Regions from separate parts of the Homo sapiens genome. Here region 1 is linked to region 2. Evidence: promoter capture Hi-C in 16 types of primary human blood cells and fetal thymus (Javierre and others, 2016). All regions are on one chromosome and are shown on one strand. Each heading gives the region's core, a stretch centred on a gene start or on the middle of the fragment in contact. The rest is flanking DNA. Distances are from core to core; before and after follow the strand shown. Region 1 has its middle 43 kb from the start of CIT. Region 2 holds the start of PXN (paxillin).

The links. Contacts are between HindIII fragments. The CHiCAGO score rates a contact against its expected background, and 5 or more counts as called.
Region 1: a fragment that was not itself captured here is called in contact with the fragment with the promoter of PXN in region 2 in 1 of 17 cell types (activated CD4 T cells); the score reaches 5.4 in activated CD4 T cells.

The regions. Positions count from the first base shown.
Region 1 is chr12:119,916,674-119,923,083 of GRCh38, reverse strand. No RefSeq gene overlaps it. Among named protein-coding and RNA genes, the nearest start is that of CIT, 43 kb to the right of the region's middle. The HindIII fragment of the contact is 9,411 bases long and covers 1-6,410 here.
Region 2 is chr12:120,261,594-120,267,940 of GRCh38, reverse strand. PXN (paxillin) reads left to right here and starts at 2,211. Exons shown (of 15, transcript NM_001385981.1): 1 at 2,211-2,324. The coding sequence starts at 2,312. RefSeq lists silencers at 1,904-2,183, 2,344-2,493. The HindIII fragment of the contact is 6,296 bases long and covers 45-6,340 here.

The DNA.
Region 1 (6,410 bases), core at 975-3,474, 340 kb after region 2:
TACCAATAGCAGGAGAATAAAGTGAGTTATCTGATCAACTCCCACAAGCTGAGGTGTTCCTCAGGTCACATTTGGAGGTCCAAAATCACTTTTGAATCCTGCAGGTTGAGCCTCTGGATCAACATTTCGCAGAGGAGGGTTGCATCTATCTTTTTTTTTTTTTTTTTTTTTTTTTGAGATGGAGTCTCGCTCTGTCACCAGGCTGGAGCACAGGGGTGTGATCTCGGCTCACTGCAACCTCTGCCTCCCAGATTCAAGCAGTTCTCCTGCCTCAGCCTCCTGAGTAGCTGGGATTACATGCCTGCCACCACTCCTGGCTAATCTTTGTATTTTTACTAGAGATGAGGTTTCACTAAGTTGGCCAGGATGGACTCGATCTCCTGACCTTGTGATCCGCCTGCCTCGGCCTCCCAAAGTGCTGAGATTATAGGCGTGAGCCACCTCACCCGGCCGAAAGTTGTGTCTATCAATGGCCAGGGGTACAAAAAAAATGAGTTCTGAGCTTTATATGTTATTTTTTCTTTTCTTTCCTTTTTCTTTTTTTTTTTCTTTTTTTTTTGAGACAGGGTCTCAGTCTGTTACCCAGGCTGGAGTGCAGTGGCATGATCACGGTTCACTGCAACCTCTGCCTCCTGGTCTCAAGTGATTCTCATGCCTCAGCCCTCCCAAGTAGCTGGGACTACCATTTTTTTGTATTTTTAATAGAGATGGGGTTTTGATATGTTGGCCAGGCTGGTCTTGAACTCCTGGCCTCACGTGATCCACCCACCTCAGCCTCCCCAGATGATGGGATTACAGGTGTGAGCCACCAAGCTCAGCTCTGGCCTCTCCATTCTAACTTCTATAGTATTCGCGTCATCTTCACAGTCCACCCAGTGGTCTTGTGGCTGCTCCAGATTTTACTTTCTTTTTTTTTTTTTTTTTTTTTTTTGAGATGGAGTTTCACTCTGTCATCCAGGCTGGAGTGCAGTGATGCAATCTTGGCTCACTTCAACCTCTGCCTCCCGGGTTCAAGCGATTCTGGTGTCTCAGCCTCCCAAGTAGCTGGGACTACAGGCGCGCACCACCATACCCGGCTAAGTTTTTGTATTTTTAGTAGAGACAGGGTTTCACCATGTTGGCCAGGCTGGTCTCGAACTCCTGACCTCAGGTGATCCGCCTACTTCTACCAGACTAGCCAGGGGAAGAAATAATATATTTTCTGATATCTCTTATGTTAGTCCTAGGATTCACTCTCTATTGTTGACCTGAATGCAGTCATTTGCTGATTCCTGAACCAATTGCTGTGGCCAGGAGACGAGAACTAGGGAACAGAAAGCTCTCAGGAGTAAACATCTCTCAGGTTTCCCTTTTTATTTTTATTTTATTATTATTATTATTATTATTTTGAGACAGAGCCTTGCACTGTCACCCAGGCTGGAGTGCACTGATGCCATCTCTGCTCACTGCAACCTCTGCCCCCAAGGTTCAAGTGATTCTCCCGCCTCAGCCTCCCGAGTAGCTGGGATTACAGGCTTGTACTACCACACTCAGCTAATTTTTTGTATTTTTAGTAGAGATGGGTTTTTACCATGTTGACCAGGCTGGTCTCAAACTCCTGACCTCAAATGATCTACCCACCTTAGCCTCCCAAAGTGCTGGGATTACAGAGGTGAGCCACTGTTCCCGGCCAGGTTCTTAGATGCCACACCATCTCTCATCTCTATTCTCTCAGTATCTCTGCTCCTTCTTTCTGCACATCAACCATCTCTATTTTTCTCTGCATAGGGTGGAAGGTGACCATCCTCAGTCTTTGAGTTTATGTGGCCTCATTCAAGGGATAGTATAGTCTGACAGATTCTCATGTTCTGATTTTAAATCCTGGCAGAAATAATCTGATTGGGCTTAGTAGGATTAGTTTCTTTCTTTTTTTGAGACAGAGTCTCGCTCTGTCATCCAGGCTGGAATGCAGTGGCATGATATCAGCTCACTGCAACTTCCGCCTTCTAGGTTCAAGCAATTCTTCTGCCTCAGCCTCCCTAGTAGCTGGGGTTACAGGAGTGCACCACCACGCCTGGATAATTTTTTGTATTTTTAGTAGAGGCAGGGTTTCACCATGTTGGCCAGGCTGGTCTCGAACTCCTGACCTCTGGTGATCTGACCGCTTCAGCCTCCCAAAGTTCTGGGATTACAGGCGTTCACCACTGGTCAGTAGGGTTAGTTTCGACTCTGGTCCCAACAAGTATGGTCAAGGAGTTGGGATTACATTGTCCAGACATGGCCAAAAGGAGCCACCACGGGAGTTGGAAATGGGGACAAGACAGGTCTCAGGGACTTGGTGTTGTTCCCTTATTACCAATGAGAAGAAGTAAATACCCTGATATGCCAAAACCTGAGAAAGGCCTTCCACTCAATAGCCCTGATACATGTATCAGTTAGGATATTTTGGTTGCAAGTGACACAGAAATCAACTCTGGCCAACTCAAACCAAACATTTATACATATATGTATATGTATAAATATACACATGAACACTCTTACACACACATATGTATCTGGAATCCCAAGAGACAGTGTCTAATTGGAGTGGCCTGGGTCACATGATGTGCTAGATCATTATAATAATGGCTCTCTGCAGTGGCTCACGCCTGTAATCTCAGCACTTTGGGAGGCCGAGTCAGGAGGATTGCTTGAGCCCAGGAGTTCCAGACCAGCCTGGACAACATGGTGTAACCCGTTTCTACAAAAAATGCAAAAGTTGGCCAAGTGTGGTGGTGTGCACCTTTTAGTGCTGGATACCTGGGAGGCCGGGGTGGGAGGATCACTTGAGCCTGGGAGGTTGAGGCTGCAGTGAGCTTATGATTGCGTCACTGCACTGCAGTCTGGGAGACAGAGTGAGACCCTGCTCAAAAAGAAAAGTAAATAAATAATGGCCCTTTACCCACCCCTCTTTGCAATGTGGTGTTGCTGTTCCTCCCTTCAAGAGGTGGACTCTATTCTTCTGCTCGCTTGAACTGATACTGGCCTCATGGCTCACATTGACCAACAGAATGTGGCAGACTTGATGCTGTGTGAGCTTCAGAGCTCAGGTTTTAAGAAACCTCTCCCTCTCCCTCTCCCTCTCCCTCTCCCTCTCCCTCTCCCTCTCCCTCTCCCTCTCCCTCTCCCTCTCCCTCTCCCTCTCCCTCTCCCTCTCCCTCTCCCTCTCCCTCTCCCTCTCCCTCTCCCTCTCCCTCTCCCTCTCCCTCTCCCTCTCCCTCTCCCTCTCCCTCTCCCTCTCCCTCTCCCTCTCCCTCTCCCTCTCCCTCTCCCTCTCCCTCTCCCTCTCCCTCTCCCTCTCCCTCTCCCTCTCCCTCTCCCTCTCCCTCTCCCTCTCCCTCTCCCTCTCCCCACGGTCTCCCTCTCATGCGGAGCCGAAGCTGGACTGTACTGCTGCCATCTCGGCTCACTGCAACCTCCCTGCCTGATTCTCCTGCCTCAGTCTGCCGAATGCCTGCGATTGCAGGCACGCGCCGCCACGCCTGACTGGTTTTGGTGGAGATGGGGTTTCGCTGTGTTGGCCGGGCCGGTCTCCAGCCCCTAACCGCGAGTGATCCGCCAACCTCGGCCTCCCGAGGTGCCGGGACTGCAGACGGAGTCTCGTTCACTCAGTGCTCAATGGTGCCCAGGCTGGAGTGCAGTGGCGTGATCTCGGCTCACTACAACCTACACCTCCCAGCCGCCTGCCTTGGCCTCCCAAAGTGCCGAGATTGCAGCCTCTGCCCGGCCGCCACCCCGTCTGGGAAGTGAGGAGTGTCTCTGCCTGGCCGCCCATCGTCTGGGATGTGAGGACCCCCTCTGCCTGGCTGCCCAGTCTGGAAAGTGAGGAGCGTCTCCGCCCGGCCGCCATCCCATCTAGGAAGTGAGGAGCGCCTCTTCCCAGCCGCCATCACATCTAGGAAGTGAGGAGCGTCTCTGCCCGGCCGCCCATATTCTGAGATGTGGGGAGCGCCTCTGCCCCGCCGCCCCATTTGGGATGTGAGGAGCGCCTCTGCCCGGCCGAGACCCCGTCTGGGAGGTGAGGAGCGTCTCTGCCCGGCCGCCCCGTCTGAGAAGTGAGGAGACCCTCTGCCTGGCAACCACCCCGTCTGAGAAGTGAGGAGCCCCTCCGCCCGGCAGCTGCCCCGTCTGAGAAGTGAGGAGCCTCTCCGCCCGGCAGCCACCCCATCTGGGAAGTGAGGAGCGTCTCCGCCCGGCAGCCACCCCGTCCGGGAGGGAGGTGGGGGGAGTCAGCCCCCCGCCCGGCCAGCCGCCCGATCCGGGAGGGAGGTGGGGGGTCAGCTCCCCGCCCGGCCAGCCGCCCCGTCCGGGAGGTGAGGGGCGCCTCGGCCCGGCCGCCCCTACTGGGAAGTGAGGAGCCCCTCAGCCCGGCCAGCCACCCCGTCCGGGAGGGAGATGGGGGGGTCAGCCCCCCCACCCGGCCAGCCGCCCCGTCCGGGAGGGAGGTGGGGGGGTCAGCCGCCCGGCCGGCCGCCCCGTCCGGGAGGTGAGGGGCGCCTCTGCCTGGCCGCCCCTACTGGGAAGTGAGTAGCCCCTCTGCCCGGCCAGCCACCCCGTCCGGGAGGGAGATGGGGGGGTCAGCCCCCCCACCCGGCCAGCCGCCCCGTCCGGGAGGGAGGTGGGGGGGTCAGCCCCCCGCCCGGCCGGCCGCCCCGTCCGGGAGGTGAGGGGCGCCTCTGCCCGGCCGCCCCTACTGGGAAGTGAGTAGCCCCTCTGCCCGGCCACCACCCCGTCTGGGAGGTGTGCCCAACAGCTCATTGAGAACGGGCCAGGATGACAATGGCGGCTTTGTGGAATAGAAAGGCGGGAAAGGTGGGGAAAAGATTGAGAAATCGGATGGTTGCCGTGTCTGTGTAGAAAGAAGTAGACATGGGAGACTTTTCATTTTGTTCTGCACTAAGAAAAATTCCTCTGCCTTGGGATCCTGTTGATCTGTGACCTTATCCCCAACCCTGTGCTCTCTGAAACATGTGCTGTGTCCACTCAGGGTTAAATGGATTAAGGGCGGTGCAAGATGTGCTTTGTTAAACAGATGCTTGAAGGCAGCATGCTCCTTAAGAGTCATCACCACTCTCTAATCTCAAGTACCCAGGGACACAAACACTGCGGAAGGCCGCAGGGTCCTCTGCCTAGGAAAACCAGAGACCTTTGTTCACTTGTTTATCTGCTGACCTTCCCTCCACTATTGTCCCATGACCCTGCCAAATCCCCCTCTGTGAGAAACACCCAAGAATTATCAATAAAAAAATAAATTTAAAAAAAAAAAAAAAAAAAAAGAAACTTTGCAGCTTCTGCCTGGCCTCCTGTGGGACAAGCAGTCATATGGAGGAAAACTGAGGCTCCTCAGGGGACAGTCAGCACCCACTGCCAGTTACTGAGGGAGGCTGTCTCGGATCTTCTAGCTCATCCAAACTTCCGGTTGAATGTAGCCATGTGGATGAGCCCAGGCAAGATCAGCAGATTTGTCCAAATGGCCAACCCTAGAACCATAAGAAATTAACAATGATCATTTTAAGCCTCTGAGTTTGGTGTTGTTTTTTACACAGCATCAATAACTGGAACACATGCCCATCCCCCTGGGCCTGGAGAGAAAGGATCTGCTAGGAGAAGCCTCTAGAAACCTCTTTTGGCTTCCACAGTGTGAGGGCTGCATACTTAGACTCTCTGCCCTGTGAATTTCCCACAGCCAGGGAGAAGCAGTTCTTCAAAATGCAAGCAGGGTGCTGTTTGGAAGAGAAAAATATATATACCTGGAAGCTCAAAAACAACAAATATCCACTCTATTTTGCTTTGAGCTTTTGTAAGCATAGCTGTATAAATACTCCAAATACCTATTACATGTTGTCTTAAACTCATACTTTTGAAAATAAATACCACCAGGATGGGCTGATTTGAATTAAATAGACAGAGACTACAGTTTGTACCATCTGCAGTCCCCCACTTCTCTTGGCCCAATTTGAGAACAAACACATACACACCGAACCACAAGAGAACGACTGATTTAGAACAAATTAAATAAAGTAACATGTAGGATGTCAACACCACGCGCTCCAAGACAGGACCCAGCACACCTACTCTGAGTGTGGAAGACAGGCCAAACCATGTGCTAAACCACCAAGTACCCTCAGGTCAGAAGCAGGATTGGCAGCACTTCCACTTCCCGAGTGAATTCAAACTCTGTGATTCTCATCCAGGGGTGATTTTGCTCCCGAGGGGACATTTGACAATGTCTGAAGACATTTTTTTTTTTTAATTTTTTTTGGAGATGGAGTCTTGTTCTGTTGCCCAGGCTGGAGTGCAATGGCACGATCTTGGCTCACTGCAACCTCTGCCTCCCGGGTTCAAGTGATTCTCCTGCCTCAGCCTCCCGACTAGCTGGGACTATAGGTGCC
Region 2 (6,347 bases), core at 962-3,461:
AGGGACCTGAGTGTTCGAGTGCACCAGCACTCAACTCTGAAGCTTCAGTTCTCTTTAGAACTCTGCATAGCAATGGGAAACTTGCCCATTCAATGGGTGCCTCGCATTTCCAGACCACACAGCTTTGAAAAAGAAAGGTTTTAGACCTTTGGAGAAGTGGACAAGCGTATGCCCTGGGGTTGGTCTAAGTTGTTAGCAGTTTCACTTAGCCGTTTCATAACCAGGCCTTGGCATAAGCCTCCCCAGGTTCAAATCTCAGTTTCCTTACTTATTAGCTGTATGACCTGGAGTAATTCAACCTCTGACTCTCAACTCTTCCAGCTGTAAAAGGGGCTAACAATGCTCATCTCCTAGGCTTGTGGTCAGTATTAAATGTCTTGTCTACAGACCTTTGCACATGCTGTTCCACACAGCTGGGAGTGGGGCGAGGCTACTCATCCTTCATGCTAACCACTTTGCTCTTTTGCGTGCACCTTTAGATTCAAGAAGGTAGACATCATGTTAGTCTTATTCATCATCCCAGCCTACGCAACAAAGCAAGACTGTGTCTTAAAAACACAAAAACAGGCTGGGCGTGGTGGCTCACACCTGTAATCCCAGCACTTTGGGAGGCTGAGGGGGGCGGATCACCTGAAGTCAGGAGTTCAAGACCAGCCTGGCCAACATGGTGAAACCCTGTCTCTACTAAAAATACAAAAATTAGCCAGGCATGGTAGTACACGCCTGTAATCCCACCAGGAGGCAGGAGATCACCTGAGATCAGGAGTTCAAGACCAGCCTGGCCAACATGGTGAAACCCCATCTCTACTAAAAATACAAAAATTAGCCAGGCATGGTGGTATGCGCCTGTAATCCCAGCAGGAGGCAGGAGAATCACTTGAACCTGGGAGGCGGAGGTTGCAGTGAGCTGAGATTGCACCACTGCACTCCAACCTGGGCGACAGATTGGGACTCCATCTCAAACAAAAACAAAAACACAAAAACTAAAACAAAATAGAGGTATGTGCAAGATGCTGGAAAACCACGCAATAGAGTGTTTGAGGAACAGTCTTTGGTCTTGAATTTATTATAGGAGAATGTGGCAGCCACAGAAGCTGCTTGGATCTGCCTTTATAAAATGACTGAACATGGTGGGAGCATTGGAACCCGGATACTTCTGCCCAAGGAGACTTCTCATTTTTTTTGTCCTGGAATTCCCTGATGGGTTGACCTGTTTGTCAGATCTGAGTCTCCTTGCCCAACCCTGCTTATTTCCCCTTCTCTGTCACGGGCATTACCCCTAGCTTTATCTCAGCATCTCATCTGCTTTCTGGAGGACCTGATCTGACCCAGAAGGCCTGGATTCTTGAGGGACAAGGGGAACTCGAAGCTGTACTTGCAGAGCAGTTTTATATAAAATCCACAAACTGCCATCACCCATCCCAACGGGTAGGGAAGTACCTCTAGGAGGATTAATTTAGAGAATAGCTATATAGTGTCTGTCTATTCAGACACTCAATAAATGGTAGTTGTTATTATTACCCAATTTCCGAGTGTGTGGGAGCACTGGGTGTGACTTTCCTGTAGTTTTCCCTTTAATGTCTAATCTGGGGACCCCTCTGCCCCATGCAGTTTTGGAAAAGTGTCTAGGGAGGGTGGCTGTGTGGAAGTAATATTAAGAGAGATGGAACCACACAGGTATTGGGTTTGGGCCAGAAAGGGTGAACTGCGAGCTGCACTGCCATTGATCCAGAGGACGACCCCAGGAAAGGTCAGCCACGGGCTCCGGGCCTTGCCTGGTACTGATTTATGGTCCTCCTGGGTGGTGACCTACAGGTGACAGACGGACAGGTGGGCAAAACTGACTGTCCAGTGGACAGGCATGTGATGACCCAGTGGCTGACGAATGCACAGACACATGGCTGACTGTGGACGGATTTGTCATCCGCAGGGTCAGGCAAGTGACTTTGAGAGGGACAGAAAGATGGATGGGAGTGGCTGGAGGCCTGGGAGCCGCCCACCTGCCCGCTTAGCCGCGAGGGGGCGCCACCGCCCCGCCCAGCGACGCCCACTGCCCGGGCTCTTGGCGGGGGCGGGACCAGCGTGCGCAGGGGGCGGGGCCAGCAAGCTCGCGGGGGTGTCCGGGGGCGGGGCGCGCGTGCACAGGGGGCGGCCGGGGGCGGGGCGCGCGGCGGGCGCGGGCGCGGGCGCGCGCGGCGGCGGCGCGTTCCGTTCCGGGCCGAGGCTCGCGGCGGAAAAGTTGCGGGGCATAGACGAGCGGCCCCGGGACGGGCAGCTAGCGCGACCCTGAGCCGGCGCCCGTGGTCCGGCCATGGACGACCTCGGTGAGTGAGCGGGAGGCCGAGGGAGGAGGAGGCGAGAGGCGCGCAGCTTGGGGCCAGGAGGGCGCCAGCGAGCGGCAGGGGCCGCGGGATCCCACCCTCGGCGGCCCCGGCCTCAGCTCCTGTCCCTGCCGGCCGGGGCTCCGCGGGGCTGGGATCCCTAACCGGGCCTTAGTCTCGGGCCAGGCCGGCCCCGGCACCGACCGCACAGCAGCGACCCCCCGTCTGGGACGGCTTCACCTCTGGACCCCCGACCTCGGGGACCCATCACCATCTCCCAGAAGGGCCCCAGGGACCAGCCCGCCCCTCAGGGACCCACCCCGTCCGCTGCAGGGACGAGACTTCCTGCGGCAGACCACCTCGTCAGCTACGGGACCCTCACCTCGCAGACCTCTCCCCACCCCCACCTCACAGATCGACCGCCCAACTCGGGGAGCAGCTGCCCGATCTCATGGGCTGCTCCCTCATTTCCTCGACCTGCTCCCCGTCCCTCCAGGGCCGCCCCCCACTTCACAGACTAGCACCCCCCTTCAGGGATAACCCCTCGGAGCCCACCCCTTTCATTTCACAAGTCAGATGCAAAAGCTAGAGATGAGCGTGTGATGACCACACCCCCATTTCAAAGACAAGTTTCCCAGTCTGCCTGCTCTTCTGACCCCCCACTTCAAATCTGGTCACCCCGTTTCAAGGACCCATCACTCATTTTCTCTCACTGACCTCCCCGCTCTGTGGACCAGCCCCTCAATTCACAGACCAGTCCGTCTACCATGGTATCTAAGTCTAGAACGGTAATTTGGGAGTCCTGATTCTCTCCCCACCCCTAGATTCTGGTGAAATGCCAGGGGAATGAGGTGGAAGGTGGGCCCCAAGGTATGACCATCCCTGAACGTGTCCTGGCTAGCAGAGTCCCCTCCACCCTCTCTGCGTCAGGCCCTGCTGGAAGCCACGCAGGTGAAAGAGGACAGGATGCCCAGAACAGAGTTTTACTGTTTTCCTGTTATTGGAGCCCCAAGGCTACTCTTTTCAGTCCAGTCTTGATCTGGTGTTAGGGGAAAGAAAGTATCTCCTGGAAGCCGACTCTAAACCCAAGGGGGTTGGTGCCAGGGTTCTAGGAATGCCTTGGGTGGCGTGAACGCAGGAGTGGGAGGATTCGCTGTCTCTCCCTCCCCTTCACGCCTGTAGCTGGAGGGCCCTGAGCTTGGGAGGTGAGGAGGGGGGCAACGTTTCTTCTCTGCAGGAGCCTTGTCTTTCCTCTCTGGACTGTGGGTGGCTTGTGTGACCACTGATGCTTCCTCTGTCCCAGGCTCTGAGGAGTAGATTCAGCAGACAGGACTGATGGACCTCTACCAAGCAGCGCCGGGCACTAAGTTAAGACTGGCTATTTGTAGGTGCTGGACTTGACTGCTTCCCTCCAGCTTCCTTTTGGGATCAGGGTGCCCCTGAGATCCTGGAGCTGGGGTTGGTGTAGGGTCCTGCCTGTTTTGCAGAGTGAGATGGCTGCCAAGCGTGGTTCTGCCTTTGGGTCAGGCTTGGCACCCATTTTTCCAGTGTGCTCAAGGTTGGCATGGCTTCCAGGCAGGTATTTTTTTTTTTCACATAAAAATAGCTCAGCTGGAAGGAGGCTGGGGGATGTTCTTTGAACCAGGATCTAAGAGTCTGAGTGCTTTCCCAGTGGGAACTGGGAGCAAAGTTACAGTTTCTAAAGTGCTGGTGCAGTTCTGTTGCTTCTCGGCAGTCCCCGTGCTGTTTCAAGGACTGAGAAAGTCTTTGTAGAGCTCGCCATCGAAATCTGGAATTCCTGTCTTCTGACAGTCTTCCATTTAGGGCCAGGAAACTGAGTTCTGAAAGGAAAGAGAGTACTGTATACGGGAGAGGGGATTGTAGGGATTTAAATTGCTGTTTGTGGAGTACTTCCCTCTACCTCGATTTGTGATATCCTCACAACAACCCTTTTATCAGATTCCACCTTAAAGCCAATGCTGTCATGACCACCTGCCTTTTTACAGATTGAGAAAGCCGAGACGAAGAGAGGCTGATTCTCTTGCCCAAGGCTGCACAGCCATGAAATGACAAAACCATAACTGGAAGCCCAATTCCTAGCTCCCAGATCTGTGGCTCTTGTATACCGAGAAGACTTTTTTTCCTGGGGAGGAGGCAAGGGCACTTGAAGGAGGGGTTGCCACTGGGTGATGGCGATCACCTGTAACTTCTACTGCTTTCTACCATAGACTCCCAGTTGCTTACATCCGGGCTGCCCGACTTCCTTGGCCTGAGCTCCCAAGGGGCAAGCCACGCCTGACTGACCGGAGCCTGGGGTGGGAGGAATGGGGTGTGCAGGAGGGGAGAGGAATTTGCCTTTGCACTGGGGCCCCGTCAGCTGTCTGGATGGCGGCTCAGCACACTGCCATCAGCTGTTTTCCTTAGGGTGGCTCAGCTGTTTTCCTTAGGGTGGACACAAAGCCCAGACCTCTTGTTTTTATTTTTCTCCTGAGCGTGCTCTCAGCCGTGTGCCTCCTGGTCCCTAACACAGGGGAGAGTTTATGGTGTGTCCGGTAGCAAGGCCAGAGGGTGCATCACCTCCTCTGTGACTTTGTTTTTTGGTCTAATAAAAAATGGGGAACTCTTCTCCTTCCCATAGTTGCCAATGACAGACTCACCATGTGCTGCTTAATAAGTTACAAATTTATAGCTCTCTGAGCAGAAAAATATCAACACAGCGTGTTCTGCCCTTCCCTGTGTGTTCTCTCCACTTTGTTCTTTGGGGTGGCTGCTTGGTGGCTTTTCTTATTACTGTTTAGATGCTGGTTTGGCCCAGAGTTCGCTCTGTTCAAGTTCTGGCCGGAGTTTCCTGGACAGAGTTCCCACAACACTGAGATGCACTCTGACTGTGTTTTCTAACCCGATTGCTTGCTCTTCCTCTGTTCATGTTCTCAGTGTACTTGGTGGGGGCTTTGACCACAACTGTGGTCTAATCATGATCATGTGCGCTTCATGGGAGACAGGCACTGTACTCAGCACTTTACGAGCTGTATCACAACCTTTCAGAAAGGGAGGTGTTTTCGCTCCACTTTATACATGTGGAAACCTGAGCTCAGGGAAGTTTAGTGGTAGTGCTGGGATTTGAACCCAGGCTCATCCAATTCCAGATCCGGTTATCTTAATCATCATAAGGTGGTAGGTGCTGGTGACTAACCAGGGGGATGAGCCTTGGGGCCTGCTGAGTAATTGATAGTTACCTTTAACAATCTCTGCCCTAGGGGCCCATCCCAGGAAATGGCAAAGGGTGTGTCCAGTGCAAGACTGGGTAGCTTTGCCTTCCCATCCTCTAGCAGGGGGAACAGCCAGCTGTTGGCAGTGCCCAGTTGCTGCTGGAATCTGGACATGTCTTCTTTCAGCTTCTCAGCAGTCTTGACCCTTTGGAAAACAGTGCCTCATTGTCCTTGGGGGTAGTGCTAGGGGGGCAGAGGAGTTGCCTGGGGCATTGGGAGCTATGGAGCCTCCCTGTTTCCATGGAAAGTCTGGACTTTGGGCTTTCCTGTCTGTGGTCCCTCTGTGTGTTAGGGCAGAGTCAGGGCACCCAGCTGCTGGGCGTGTGGCAGAGGCGGCATTTACCCATGCAGCGATAGTGCCCTCCTGGTGGGCTCTGCATCAGTGCCAGACCTTCTCCTGGGCTTGTGCTAGTAAGGGGCAGAGCTGGGATTCAAACCTTGGTGGGTTTGATTCTTCAGCGGGTACACTTTCTGATATGTGAAGCTGTCTGCTGCCTGGGCAGACATAGCTTGATGGAGAAATGCTCAGCCTACTGGAACCCAAAGCCCTGTCACTATAGGTTCAAGGTCTTTTGAGGGAATATCTCAGTATTCCTTTTTTCCAGCTTCCCTAGTGATGGTCATGCATTGAAGAGACTGGGTGTACCCTTGGCTGGAGAGGCTGATGGAAGGCCAGAGTTATTGGTGGGCCACTGAGCAGCCCTCCTCTCCTATTTAGTCATCCTGCTTGGAGTATCTGACTCTGAAGCTTCTCTTG